Regions from separate parts of the Homo sapiens genome. Here all the other regions are linked to region 3. Evidence: promoter capture Hi-C in human tissues and cell types (Jung and others, 2019). All regions are on one chromosome and are shown on one strand. The core of a region is centred on a gene start or on the middle of the fragment in contact, and the rest is flanking DNA. Distances in the headings are between cores, read along the strand shown. Region 1 overlaps TNRC6B (trinucleotide repeat containing adaptor 6B). Region 2 overlaps GRAP2 (GRB2 related adaptor protein 2). Region 3 holds the start of MGAT3 (beta-1,4-mannosyl-glycoprotein 4-beta-N-acetylglucosaminyltransferase).

Region 1 (4,736 bases), core at 2,218-4,717, 840 kb before region 3:
GAATAATATAATGCATAGCTAAATTTACAAGTTACTTATGAAACAGGAGTATGACAAAAATAATAAAATTTCTTCAGTAAATACGTATATATGTGTATGCTTAACTCTGATCCTTTAGCCATTAGAAGTAAGAAAGAATCGGCCAGGTGCAGTGGCTCACGCCTGTAACCCCAGCACTTTGGGAGGCCACGGTGGGCAGATCACCTGAGGTCAGGAGTTCAAGACCAGCCTGATCAACATGGTGAAACCCCATCTCTACTATACAAAAATTAGCTGGGAGTGGTGGCATGTGCCTGTAATCCCATCTACTCAGGAGGCTGAGGCAGGAGAATCGCTTGAACCTGGGAGGTGGAGGTTGTGGGAGGTGGAGGTTGGGCGACAGAGTGAGACTCCGCCTCAAAAAAAAAAAAAAAAAAAAAGAAGAAGAAGAAGAAGAAGAAGAAGGAAATACAGCATAAGGACACCTTTGTTAGTAATCAAGGGAGGCCCCGCCATGTTTGGTACCCTGGTGTTTTGCAGCCCAGATGAGCACAGAGCTGACCTTCTTCTATATCAAGTGCAAGAAAAGTTATTTCGAATTTAAGTCAGTTATCAGGCAGATCATCTTTAAGAATGAAAACAGTTGGTGGAAGCTAAGGATCTACAAAGTAATTCCGTTAAAATATCCAGATCAAGATCAAGAACACCTTGAAGTCTTTGCTCACCCCCTGCACGTGCAGTAGGAGGATCACGGGGTTGGCGCACAGTCAGCCGCTGCCATTTGTCCAGGGTCACACTGTCACCTAGAACCAGCAATTTCATGTCTTCCCAACTCTTTTTTTTTTTTTTTTTTTGAGATGGGGTCTTGCTCTATCACCCAGGTGGGAGTGCAGGGGCACAATCTCAGCTCACTGCAACCTCCGTCTCCCGGGTTCAAGTGATTCTCCTGCCTCAGCCTCCCCAGTAGCTGGGATTAGAGGCGCATGCCACAACGTCCGGCTAATTTTTGTATTTTTAGTAGGGACAGGGTTTCACTACATTGGCCAGGCTGGTCTCGATCTCCTGACCTCGTGATCTGCCTGCCTCAGCCTCCCAAGGGGCTGGGATTACAGGTGTGAGTCACCGCGCGCGGCCCAACTCGTTTTTTGAGTGTGCGTAGAACAGTATCTTCTTTAGAAGATAAATTCTAAATGTTGTCAGTTTGAGATGAAACTATGATGGTGTGTGGTATCTTTTCCATTTTAAAATTTTGTTTTGAAATCACTGTTTCCTCACCAATTAGATTCTGCTTACAGCATGTTTTCCAGTTCTGAAAGAGCTATGATTTGCCTGCCAAAAAATTCTTGAAGAATGTTAAAGGCATAACCTTACTTGTTCTAATTCTATTTAAATCAGATGAAATACTAATATCAAATGAATTTTTATCAATCTGCACTATAATTTTAGTTCATTTTTTCTATAGAAGGCAATTTTATTAATATGAGTACACTAAAACATTTCAAACTAGTACATATTTTAACAGATCATAACCTCAGCCATGTGTACCACTCACAGCATGCACAAGCATTTAAATAGGGTTTTAAAAATTCCCGGCGGTAGGAGAGCAGTTTGCCATTCATACACACGTATTGAAAGACTGCTGGCTTCATGCTGGTGATCAAAAAGTTTCAGATTTTGGGGCATTTTGGATTTTTAGATTAGGGGATGCTCAACTTGTAGTTAAAAGGTGGAAACAATCCAAGTTTATCCATTTCAGCAGAAAAGTGGGTAAACACACTGTGGTATATCTGCACAATGGAGTATTACCCAGCCTTAGAAAGGGATGAATTCTGATATGTGCTATAGCATGTATGAGCCTTTACTGTGTTAAATAAAATAAACCAGACACACACACACACACAAAAAAAAGGAAGACTGCTTTGGAGCCAGAGAAGTTAGAGGCCTGGCTCTGCTATTTAGTAACCATGTGGTGAGCTCTGGAAACCCACTGAAACTCAAGAAGCCTCAGATGTCTCATCTGTAAACCAGGGATAAGAATATTTACCTACCTTGTACAGCTGACATAAAAAAGGAGGGTAATGCAGGTGCAACCCCTACCACAGGCCTAGAGAGGTAGATTTCTAAAAAGGTAATTTTCTCTACCAACAACTTACCAGAACCATATCCAGGTATTGGCCCTTTGGTTTGAAGGTCTGGGAGCCCCACATTCAATGCGTTGGGTACCATGTTGTCCAGATGCGGCTTGGGCCCAACAGGATGAGAGGGCGAGTGCTTCATGCCTGGCTGCCTCTGCTGCTGCTGCTGCTGCTGCTGCAGTGCACTCACCATTCGAGCCAGCTGAGGGCCAAGAGAGACAGACACGTGATAAGCACGGCCCCGAACTTCCCAGGAAAAGACTGTGCCCGGTTCTTTGCCATCAGAGGCTAAGCCGGGATGTACTCCTCCAACACAGCACTGGAGGGACCCTGCCTACCCACGTACCTGCTGCTCTTGCTGTTGGCGTACAGCTTGAGAAATCTTTCTCTGGTTCTGTAACAACTGCTGCTGTTGCTGCTGCTGCAAGAGAAGCTGACATGCCTACAAAACAAGGGGGAAAGACAGAAAACCAAAGTTTCCTGAGATTGATTTACTGAGGACACCTAAAGGGTCTGTGCACTGAAGTACAGGTCACACAATCAAAAGTATCCAGGAGGGAAGTAACACCAAATTCCCGGTCTCTTGGTTACATTTTCCTCCAGTTGAGCTGACAACCCTTAAGCACACTCCATAGTTTGCAAAGAAGTGTGGACTAGCACCCTTTGAACATAGAAAGTGGCAAAGATGTGGGAAGCAAATCAAAGCTAAAGAAAAAAAAAAAGCAAATGACCTTTTTAGCCACAGGAAGAAAATCTTCTACTTACCAACTGAAACTGGGGAATTTGTGGAAGCTGGCTCAGCATGGCAATTTGTTGAGGAGATAACTGGGGCCCCACATTGAAAAGACCTGGACTCAGGCCACTGTTGGGAAACTGCTTGAGCATTGAGGCAGAAACCTAGCCAAAAAAATAAAAAAGAAAGAAAAGAAAAGGAATCTTCAGAATTTATCAAAATAAAACTGTTTTTCTGTGAAAAGAATCTTGATGAATCTAAAGCAAGAGTTGTCAAACTTTTCTGTGAAAAATATATAACAGGAAAAATACACTCAAGGGTTAACAATGATTATCTTGGAGCAGTGAGATTACAACAGTTTTTAAATTTTCTTCTTAGACTTTCCAATTTTCTACAATAAAAAGTATAAATTTTATATTCAGGAAAACATCTTCAAGAAAAAAAAATTGATGACAATATGGCTTTTATCCAACCAAGAAATTATTACTGGAAATGTGCCATAAAACAAAACATGCTACATTGCATAAAGCTAATAAATAATACTTACGTGAAAGTATTTCTGTGCTACAAGTAAGACAAATATATTAACTTGTAAATAGAAGACATGAGTTTCAATGCATGGCTTCTGATAGCAAACACCCACAGAGTGGCAGTGTAAAAAAAGAGCCAGCATCAAAGAGCCTGGAAGGTCACTGACCCGGCAGGGTCCTTCTCCCTGTTCTCAGGAGTGAGCTAGGCGAGGCTGCAGGAAGCTCTGGCGACAGAGGATTCCCTCCTATCTTTGGTTTGCTCCTCTAAGATGATTTAAGTAAGAAGAAGTGAGTTTCCCTGCACCCTCATCTACTGAACCCACTGGACTAGTTGGGGCCATGGAGAACAAGCTTAAGAACGTGTCCGTGAGTGCCAAGTAGTGTAGCACAATGGCCAAGAATTTAGTCCTAGAGGCTGGGCACAGTGGCTCACACCTGTAATCCCAGCAGTTTGGGGGACTAGCTTGTGCCTAGGAGATTGAGAACACCTGGGCAACATAGCGAGCTATCATCTCTTTAAAAAAATAAAAAGGTTAAAAAAAGACTTTAGAGCTGGGTGTGGTGGCTCACGCCTGTAATCCCAGCACTTCAGGAGGCTGAGGTGGGTGGATTACCTGAGGTCAAGAGTTCAAGACCAGCCTGACCAACATGCAGAAACCCCGTCTCTACTAAAAATACAAAATTAGCTGGGTGTGATGGCGCATGCCTGTAATCCCAGCTACTAGGGAGGCTGAGGCAGGAGAATTGCCTCAAGCTGGGAGGCGGAGGTTGTGGTGAGCCAAGATGGTGCCATTGCACTCCAGCATGGGCAACAAGAGTGAAATTCCATCTCAAAAAAAAAAAAAAAAGACTTTAGTTCTAGAGGCAGACTGCCTGGGTTTGTAATCCCAGCTCTGCCTGCCTCCCCAGTTTTGTTTTTTTTTTTTTTTTGTTTTTTTTTTTTTGAGACAGGGTCTCACTCTGTCACCCAGGCTGGAATGCAGTGGCGTGATCATGGCTCACTGCAGCCTTGACCTCCCGGCTGGTCTCAAACTCCTGGGCTCAAGCCATCCTCTCAAAGTGTTGTGATTACAAGTATGAGCCACCGCTCCCAACCCAGCTCTGCCATTTCTTTTTTTTTTTTGAGACGGAGTCTCGCTCTTTCACCCAGGCTGGAGTGCAGTGGCGCTATCTTGGCTCACTGCAAGCTCCACCTCCTGGGTTCACGCCATTCTCCTGCCTCAGCCTCCCGAGTAGCTGGGACTACAGGCGCCCGCCACTGCGCCCGGCTAATTTTTGGTATTTTTAGTAGAGACGGGGTTTCACCGTGTTAGCCAGGATGGTCTCAATCTCCTGACCTCATGATCCGCCCGCCTCGGC
Region 2 (4,805 bases), core at 926-3,425, 520 kb before region 3:
GTCACTGCATCTAGGCATCAACCATTTATTGACTGCACTGCATATCTTTGACCTAAAAAAGATTTGGTCTAGCAGAGGAGGCAGATCAGTGAATCACTGACAATGGTGTTCTGAGTATTGGGATAGAGGGAGAACAAGGTTACTACAGGAACATAAGTGGGGGTGGGGGAACGGGGGCACTTACATCAACCATAATATTGGGATGGTTTCCCAGTGGAGACCTGGAGCCCTGAGCTAATGATTTCAAAGTAAGTAACAGTTGTCTGGACCCACGCTGCCCTATAAGGCAGCTCTTTGCCACATGTGGCAATTTCAGTCATTTATACCAGGCATATTTCAAGTATTCAATAGCCACATGTGGCTAGTGGCTAGTGGCTACCACATTGGATGGAGCAGATACAGAGCTTTTCCCTCATCACAGAAAGTCCTAATAGACAGCCCTTGTCTAGACAAAACAGTGGGAGAAAGCATTCCAGGCAAAAAGAACAGAATGTAGGAGACCAGAGGTCTTAGAAAACATGCCTCATTCTGGGAACCACAGATAGTTCTAAGGGACTGAAGTAAAGAGTGTTTGGGACTGGAGAGGTAGAAGATGTGGCTGAACGAACAAGGCAGCAGGCAGATCACAAAAGGCCTTTAGTGCGAAGCTAAGGAGGTTAAACTCCAGCCTGAAGACTATGGAGAACCCAAAGATTTGAGCAGGAGCTTGGTATCATCAGCCTGTCTGCGAATAAGATCTCCCTGACTGCGTTGGAGGCTGTATTACAGGGGGCCAGCCAGAAAGGCAGGGAGACGAGTGCTGAGACTATTGCAGTCATCAGGGAAAGAAGTGAGAGAGGTTTGAAGTAAGGCAGTGGCTGTGGAATGGGTGCAGAGAAGGGACAGAGTTGAGAGAATGTGAAGGACCCGATGGCTGATTGTGTCTGACCCTGAAGAGGTGCTTTGTAAATATTTGTTGACTTAATGAATGAATTACAGCAAAACTTAAAACAATAGAAGTGAGTGCACAGCTACTAGGCTTCTAGGTAGTATCTACTGCACAAATGGTGTGGTGCAGAGGACACCCTTGCCTTGGTATGGACAGGCTGAAGTGTTGACTTTAGACTGAGAAAACAGCAAATATTTTGACCATGCTAATCAGTCCCCAGTGTGGGCTGTTGTGTTTCAGGTTAGCTGTGAGCTAACGATGGCATGTAGGTACATTCCCCTTCTTTTGAGCTCAAGGAGAAAGAGGCAACAGGGAAGAGTGAGAAGAGAGAGACGGAGGGAAGGGTTGGTATCCCTTGTTCTGTCTGATGGAGGGAGGGCTCGGCTGAGAAGAGAGCCAGCTGTGCTCATGGAAGATGCTGAGGGAGCCAGGGTCCAAGCAGTGCCTCTCAGAATTGGGCACAGGCTGGCCATTCTCCCCTCTACCTCTTCCCCAATCTCCTTGTCATGTGGACTGCAGGGCAGATTTGGTGTCCTGAAGGATTGGGTCAATTCACCAGCAGATAAATGTGGTGCATAGTGGATCCGCAGCATCTGGGAAGGCATTGTCAGCAGAGGATGCGTGGGGCAACAGAACACTGGAACCAGAGTAGGAAGCGTGAGTATACTGGTGCCTAAACACGTGAGAGATAACAGCCTCCCTCTCTTGGCCTCTCAGAAGTTAACTGGAGGAGAATCCGAAGACAGTGGCTAAAGCTACTGGAACCTGGACATCATTGTAAATATGACCTTGTTTGCATCTACAGGTCTGTTAGGCCCAAGACAGTTGAGTTACAAAATGAGTAAATAGATGAGATGAAGCAGGTCCAATCATTCCTTCATTAGAAAAATATTTACTGAGCCTCTGTGTGCCTTGCATAGTGCTAGATGCTGGGTGTACAATGGTTTACAAAACAGAGGTGACCCCTGCTCCGTGGAGCTTACAGCTCCAAGTTCACTTGAACTTGGGAGGCAGAGGCTGCAGTGAGCTGTAATAGCCATACAGCTCAGTCTGGCACCATCATCTGTGTACGTGCTATTCAGGAAAAGCACAGGATTCATAAGACCATCTTAGGGGAAGGATTATTTTAGATTAGAGGGCAGGGGAGGACTGTTTGGAAGTGACATTTAAACCCAGACCTGGGCCAGGCATGGTGGCTCACACCTATATTCCCATCACTTTGGGAAGCCAGGGTGAGTGGATCACCTGAGGTCAGGAGTTCAAGACCACCCTGGCCAACATGGTGAAACCCTGTCTCTACCAAAAATGCAAAAATTAGCCAGGTGTGGTGACATGACCCTGTAATCCCAGCTACTCGGGAGGCTGAGGTGGGAGAATCACTTGAACTTGGGAGGCAGAGGCTGCAGTGAGCTGAGACTGTGCCACTGCACTCCAGCCTGGGCAACAGAGCCAGACCCCATCTCAAAACAAAAACAAAAACAAAAACAAAAACAAAAACAAAAAACAAAAAACAGAAAACAAAAAACCAACCCAGACCTGGAGATGAACAAGAGTTAGCAGGGTTAGCAGGGGATGTGCCTCCAGGTAGCAAGAATGGCAAGTGTGAAAGGTTTGGGGACAAATCCTTGGCCATTTGGAGGCTGAAAGGCCAGTGGGGCAGGAGCATAAAAGCAAGGGGCAGGGGAGGCAGAAGAGGAGGCTGAGGAGGGAGGCAGGGGCCGGACTTCACAGGGCCACATTAGGACTTTGGACTTAAGCCTAAATCCAGTGGGAAGGGGAGTGATGTGATCGGATTTATTTTTACAAAGATCGCTTTGGCATCTGTGTGGAGGACCAGATTACGGGAGAGAATGCAGGGAGAAAGGTATGAAAGCTGACAGTTGCCAAAGGAAGAGATGATGGTGGCATGGCCAAGGTGATGGAGTAAAGTGGAGGAACTGAGGAGGCATTTTTTAAAAAGCATTGAGACAATCAAGGTTTTTCTCACACACTTGCCTTGGTATAGAGGGGCTAAAATGTTGGCTTAGACAAGGCAAACAGTAAATATTTTGGCCATGCTAATCTGTCCCGAGTGTGGGCTGTTGTGTTTTAGGTTAGCTGGGAGCACAGTCCCCTGCCTCAACCAGGGCCACATCTGACCAGAGTCAATTTTATGACTGAAGATTTCCTGACAAAGCTTTTACAACTTCTGCAATCTCTGCTGATGTTTAAAATAATTACTATTAGGAAATAGTAATTATTATAGGAAATTCCTGTTTGCATTTCATCTGAATTCCTCTCACATTACATTTTTTTAATTCTAGAGATAAGGATGCTAAAATAATAAGTCACCTGGGTAGCCAAATATGAATGACGTCATAATGACCGTTCTGAATTGCATCTGTCCCAAAGCCAAAGTGACCTATTCGTTAGCAGCGAAGAAAAAATGGCCGAATATCCTCAGAAGAAGAGCCCAATTAGAGTTGTGCTCACTGCTAAGTTCTTTGCCTTTGCTCCTTAACATGTGGACCTAGCAACAGCACCCAGTAGCTTGTTAGAAATTCAGGACCAAGTTGGAAGCTGCATTTCAACACGGTCCCCAGGCAATTCGTAGGCACTTTAAATTTTGAGAAGCACCATGGTTAGATCACCCTAGGGCCATCTAAAAGTGGGTGGGCAGTGGCAGGTGCCAGATATTTGAAATGCGGTGAGGCACAGCAAGTGGTTAGGAAAACCCAACAACTGGTCCAACAGGACCTGGCTTTTCTCTGGAAGCTTCAAGTTCCCAAGTCACATAGAGTGTTGCAGCCAAACTCGGGGACAATGTGTTTGTTGGCTGCTGGTTCTGTGGCTGGTGAGAGGAGCTGGCTCAACCCTCCTCTGGTGCTGAAATGCTGTCAGGTAGAAACTAGGGCCCGTGGGGACACATGCGGAGGGGCTCCCCCTGGCAGCACCAGAGGCTGAGGGGGGTTGAGCTCTCTTTCCCCCTCCCCTCCATAATGTGGACAGTTTGGTTCTTGTCCTCTTTACCTGGCCGCTAAGAGCCCTCATTCCTTGTAGGTGGTTTGGGTGACTTTCCCGCTTCCTTCTGAATGGAGGCTGATGAGCAAGGGAAAGATGCTTTGGCATCTCAGTACAAAATACTCTTCAGTAGCTTTTGCTACAACAGAACACCGAGCTCCAGGGGTTCTGAAAGCTCTGCTCATACCGCCTGCCTACGGGGTCAGCTCCTGCAGGCCGATGACCCCTGTCACCCCCTGGTCTCGTTCTCACTCTCTACCTGAGGGGTATGCAACGCAGACACCAGACACGGCCTGGCCAAACAAGGACACTTTGTTTTATTACTGCTTTCCTGAGAAGCCTTTCAAGGCACAAAGTCTCCACCAGAATCGAATCACATACCTCCGTCTAACTAGAGCTGGTCCTCCCACATCATCAGACAACTGGATGGAGTTTGTGGGCTGTTTAAAGCATATGGTTTGTAAATACTGTAAAATCAAACATTACTTATGGCTTTTATTTACTGCAGCATTTCACATTACCTAGCACCAAAATAGCTGAGGAGGTCTTCTCTGCCTTTGTTCTTTCTCCTGTTCTTTTCCTTATGCTTCTTTGCTCCCTGCCTTCCGCAGCAGCGGTTTCTCTGCTCTGATTCTTCCTCTCCCCACTGCCCAGCCCTCCTCCTGCACCATCTGCCCACCAACTCCACACCGTTCTCTTCCCTGGCCCCACTCACCCTCTCCCTTTCCTCCCCCTGTGCCTCTCACGCTGCCCCTTGATCCTCCTGGATGTCTTAGCTACCTTTCCCTCTCTCTGCTTTCACTTCCAAAAGCTGCAGGTGCTCCTTACTCACACTCGACTCCCTCCTGCCTCCACCAGGCTATTTTCTTTTCCCTCC
Region 3 (4,454 bases), core at 800-3,299:
AAAGAAAAAGGAATCACCAGTGTGCCTCAAGTAGCCCTGACCACACCAAGGGCACCAGGCAGACCCTTAGAATGGGTCTGAGCCAGCGGCATCCCCCCAGCCAGGTCTTGGCTCCCTGCCGTCCTCAGGACCAAGTGCCAGCTCCCTGCTGTGCCCTCCCACCTCACCTCCACCTGGCCTCCCTGCCCAGCCTCTGCCCCGTTTTCATCTCACTTCTTCCAGGGGGCACCCACAGTGCCTGACTGTTCCCACTGCCACCTCTCAACACACGCCAGACACTCACACCTCTGAGCCTTTGCTCATGCCATTCCCTTGGCCCACAACGCCCTTCCCACCTTTCTCTACCCAGAGATCTCTGGCAGCTTCCTGTCGTCATCTCTTCCAGTAACCTCTCTCTTCCTCCTGGGCTGGGACCCCTCTTTCAAACCTTCCTAGGACCCAGAGCGGCTCCCCTTAGCACTCCTTAGACTGAAAACCCCCTCAGAGCTGCAGCTCCTGGGGGTGGGGGCTCTCCCCTCCATCCTTCTGCTGGGCTCCATGTCTGGATCTTTCATAACTGCTCCCCCTCCCCAAACGACACGCCAGTGCTCACAACTCCCCCATCAAGGCGAATCTGGACTGGTGTGTCCCAGGAATGAAGTGGGGAACCAGGGAGGAATCCCACTGGGGTAGTGTGTCTGCCCACACCCCATCAGGGGCCTTCAGGGGCATCTTCCGGGGCTGGGGGTCATCCGACCTCAGACCACTAGGTCTGGCCGCGCGGCATCCCTTCCTGCTGCACCCCAGCTCAGGAACCCCACCATACACACACCCAGGCGCACTCCCCTCCCCACTCCCGGTTCCAGAACTCACTATTTGCAGATATTTATAGCGCCCTCCCTCAGCCAGGTTCCCTCCCCCGCCCTGGGCAGAGCAATGCAAGGAGCCGGGGGCCCCCACCCCGGTAAATGGCCGGGGGCCCTCTCCACATTTGCCTCTGCCTGGTCCCCAGGGGTAGCTACGGCCGCAGCCCCCGCACCCGCCCAGCCCCCGACTGCGCTTGGGCCTCGGCTGCCGCCGCCGCAGTCTGGGGTCGGGGGTGGGGAAGGCGGGCGCGGAGGCCTCCCACCCCAGCCCCGCGCCGCGCCGGAGGTTGTGGGGGAGCCGCGCCGGAGGCTGGGGGGTGCCGCGCACAAAGCACGGCTCGAGCCCCGCGCCTCGGGGACGTCCCCCGCCCGGCCGTGGGAGGGGGTCGGGCGCTGAGGCTCTGCCCTCCGGGGACCGGGGAGCTCGGAGGAGCGGCGGGTAGGGGGAGGGGGCCCGCGCCGAGCGGCTTCCCCGGCATCCCGCCCCCACCGCGGCCTCCGGGCCCCCAGCCCCAGTGCGCCCGCGCCCGCCCCCTAAGGTCACGCTCGGGGAGTGGGCCGCGGAGCCGGGCGGGGGGCGCCAAGCGCAGCGCGGGAGGGCGGGCAGCGCGGGGATAGAGGGGCCGCGGCGCCCCCCAGGACGCCGGGGTCAACTCACCCATCGCCCGCTGGGTCTCAGCAACGGCGGCAGCAGCGGCGGCGGCGGCTCCGCGGCCCCCGGGGTCCCCGGCGGGGAGATGCTGGCGTCCGCCGCAGCCTCTCGCCCCATCCCGGGCTCCGGCGGCAGCGGCTGCGGCGGGCGCCCGGCATCGCAGGCAGCGCGGCCCCGGCCCGGCCCCGATCCCCTCCCCCCACCCCCACTTCCACCCCGTCCCGGGGACCCGGCGCGGCCGCTCGGCTGCACCCCGGGGCGGCGGCGGGGGCCCGGCGAGCGGACGGGCGCGGGGGAGGGACCGCGGCGGGCGCGCGGGGGGCGCGGAGGCGAGGCCGAGCGCGGCGCGCAGGGGTGCCCGCTCCCGCCGGCTCAAGCGGCTCCGGCCCCCACCCCGCCCCCTCCGCAACCCCCTCCCCTCCCCCGCCAGCCGGGCTCCGCCGCCGCGCCGGGCCGGGGGCGCCTCGCACCGCAGACTCCGGCCGCCGCCGCCCCGCGCCGCCCGCGCGTGCTGGATCGAGTGTGTGCGTGTGCGAGCGAGTGTGTGTGAGTGCGAGTGTGCGCGCGCCCCTCCTGTGACCGTGCGTGCGCCGGCCCACGGCCCGGGGCGGCCTGCGCGGGGGCGTGTGCGGGGAATGCGGGTAGTTCGGAGTGCGGGCCTGGTGTGCGTGCGGGGCAGCAAGTCCCGTTCTGTGTATGCGTGGACGGGTGCGTTCCGCAGCGTGCCCGGGTCGGTGTGACTCCGTGTGCCCGAGTCTGTGCCTGTGTGTGCATGGACGTGCAGATCCGTGTTGCGGTGTGTGCGTGGATGCGCCTGTGCCCGCGTGAACCTGGGCCGGGATTTCGCATAGGCATCTGTGACCATGTGCAGAGGCCTGGGCCTGTGATGTGTGCACGGTGCCGGGCCTGTTACGGTGTCTGCAGAGTCTGTGTGTCTGCTTGGGGCGTGGGTGACCGCTGTACACCGGCCTGTGTCCTTCCGTCCGACCCCCTCCGTCCCTCACATGCCCGAAGCCACCTGCGCACTCCTGGGGTAACTGGGGGGGCCTCCCCTCCCCCGCCCCCCTCACCCGGCCACCCTAGGCCCGGTCGGCCCTGCCAACCCTCTTGAGCCTACTCTCCTGCCACTTGCCCACCAGCGGTTCTCCGAGGGCCCACCGTGTCGTGCCCTGGCTCCTCGTGGCCTTGCTCTAGGCCATTCCTCTCAGGGCTCAGAGGCGTCCCCCACGTGTTTCCCGCCTTTCAAGTGGTTCCGTTCTGGGGCCTACAGAGCAGCCACTTCCTCCCGCGGTGCGAGGCACAAGGCATTGTGGGTACGCAGCAGACATCTCTGCGCCGCCATCGTCGAAGGTGCAGGGATGCGCTACCTATTCTATATCCCAGCGAATGTGCTCCAGAATAGTCCCAGAGGCCTTTGCTGAACCATCCGGGCTGCCTAGGGCTGGTCTACCTGCTCCAGGTGCCTCCGTGCCCAGCTTCATCCATCCTTGCTGAGGAGGCAGAGTGATCCTACTCCAACATTCACTTGAGCAGGTCACTCTCCTGCCTGCACCTTCAATGGCTCCCACTTGCCCTCAGCTTAAGTTCAGTGCCTGGGCGGGGCACAGGGAGCCCCTGGTGACCTAGTCTTGCCCCCTTCTTCAACGTCACCCTCACTGCTCTTTTCTTCCTGGAGGCTCTCTCTAAGCAAGGGTGGGCAAACCATTTGCTTTAAGAGATTGATTGTAAATCTTTTAGGCTTTGCCAGCCATATGGTCTCTGTCCCAACTACTCAACTCTGCCATCGTAGCATAAAATCAACCATAGACAATACGTAAAAGAATGAGCCTGGCGGTGTTCCAATAAAACTTTATGGACACAAAAATTTGAATTTCGTGTCATTTTCACGTGTCCAGAAACATTTTTTGATGTTTTCCCAACCATTTGAAAGTGTAAGATCCATTCCTAGTTCCTATCACTCTAAGCACATTCCATTATAACATCTCCATGGGCCGGGCATGGTGGCTCATGCCTGTAATCCCAGCACTTTGGGAGGTTGAGGCAGGTGGATCAGAAGGTCAGGAGTTCAAGACCAGCCTGACAACATGATGAAACCCCATCTCTACTAAAAATACAAAAATTAGCCGGGTGTGGTGGCACACGCCTGTAATCCCAGCTACTCGGGAGGCTGAGGCAGGAGAATTGCTTGAACCCAGGAGGCGGAGGTTGCAGTGAGCCGAGATCATGCCACTACACTCCAGCCTGGGCAACAGAGCAAGACTCCATCTCAAAAAAAAAATAAATCATCTCCATGACATGTGCTTAAGGTAATTGTCACTCCCCCAAAATCCAGTCTATTCTGCCCTGCAAAAATGTTGCCCTCCTCCTCTCCCCAGCCTGGCTGTTCAACCCTCTCTGCCCCTTCTTCTCCGGCCCCCAAAGAACCTTCAATTTCTGCTCAAATGTGTCCCCCTCCCCCAATTCCCCATGCCACAGCTCTCCCTGCCTGGGACTCATTCCCCTCTGGAAGGGACCGCCTCACAGACACTTTCCTTCCCCAGAACCTTCTCTCCCTCCCTGAGCCTTCAGCAGCAACTCTGGGCGTCCCTCAGCCCATGAAAGAAGTGCTGTTTCAAGTCTGGATTCTCCATTGAACTCGTTCTGAGCATCAAGAAAACCTTGACATTGGCCCCCAAGCACGAAGGCAGGCACAAAATAATCACATTCCTCCATTTCCATTGCTCCTGGCAAAGGGGAGGAGGACCTGCCCAAGCCCCAGCCCCTGCCCTTGAGGCCCAGTGAGAAGTAAAGACACGCCCCACTCCCCAGGGAAGCTGCCCTGCCCAGAGCTGGCCAGGGTCAGGGGACTTGCTTGCTCTCCATCTTCCCCCAGCTTGGGTCTTTGTTCTCCTGACCTTTCCAGATTCCCAAGCTTCTTGGGAGGCCGAAGTGGAGTCAGCCTTGTTGGGTTCATACCA

The links. Contacts are between HindIII fragments. The study calls those that stand out against the background at their distance.
Region 1: a contact is called between a fragment that was not itself captured here and the fragment with the promoter of MGAT3 in region 3, in 2 of the 25 tissues and cell types used here (dorsolateral prefrontal cortex and lymphoblastoid cells).
Region 2: a contact is called between a fragment that was not itself captured here and the fragment with the promoter of MGAT3 in region 3, in 1 of the 25 tissues and cell types used here (spleen).

Annotation. Positions count from the first base shown.
Region 1 is chr22:40,298,730-40,303,465 of GRCh38, reverse strand. It overlaps TNRC6B (trinucleotide repeat containing adaptor 6B), which reads right to left. Exons shown (of 23, transcript NM_001162501.2): 13 at 2,880-3,011; 14 at 2,461-2,556; 15 at 2,133-2,316. Among named protein-coding and RNA genes, the nearest start is that of ADSL, 45 kb to the left of the region's middle. The HindIII fragment of the contact is 7,080 bases long and covers 1-4,736 here.
Region 2 is chr22:39,972,761-39,977,565 of GRCh38, reverse strand. GRAP2 (GRB2 related adaptor protein 2) reads right to left here. Exons shown (of 8, transcript NM_004810.4): 8 at 3,845-4,805. Among named protein-coding and RNA genes, the nearest start is that of TMA7B, 15 kb to the right of the region's middle. The HindIII fragment of the contact is 5,794 bases long and covers 1-4,805 here.
Region 3 is chr22:39,454,607-39,459,060 of GRCh38, reverse strand. MGAT3 (beta-1,4-mannosyl-glycoprotein 4-beta-N-acetylglucosaminyltransferase) reads right to left here and starts at 2,049. Exons shown (of 2, transcript NM_002409.5): 1 at 1,504-2,049. RefSeq lists an enhancer at 404-603 and silencers at 924-1,053, 1,064-1,333, 2,064-2,123. The HindIII fragment of the contact is 12,980 bases long and covers 1-4,454 here.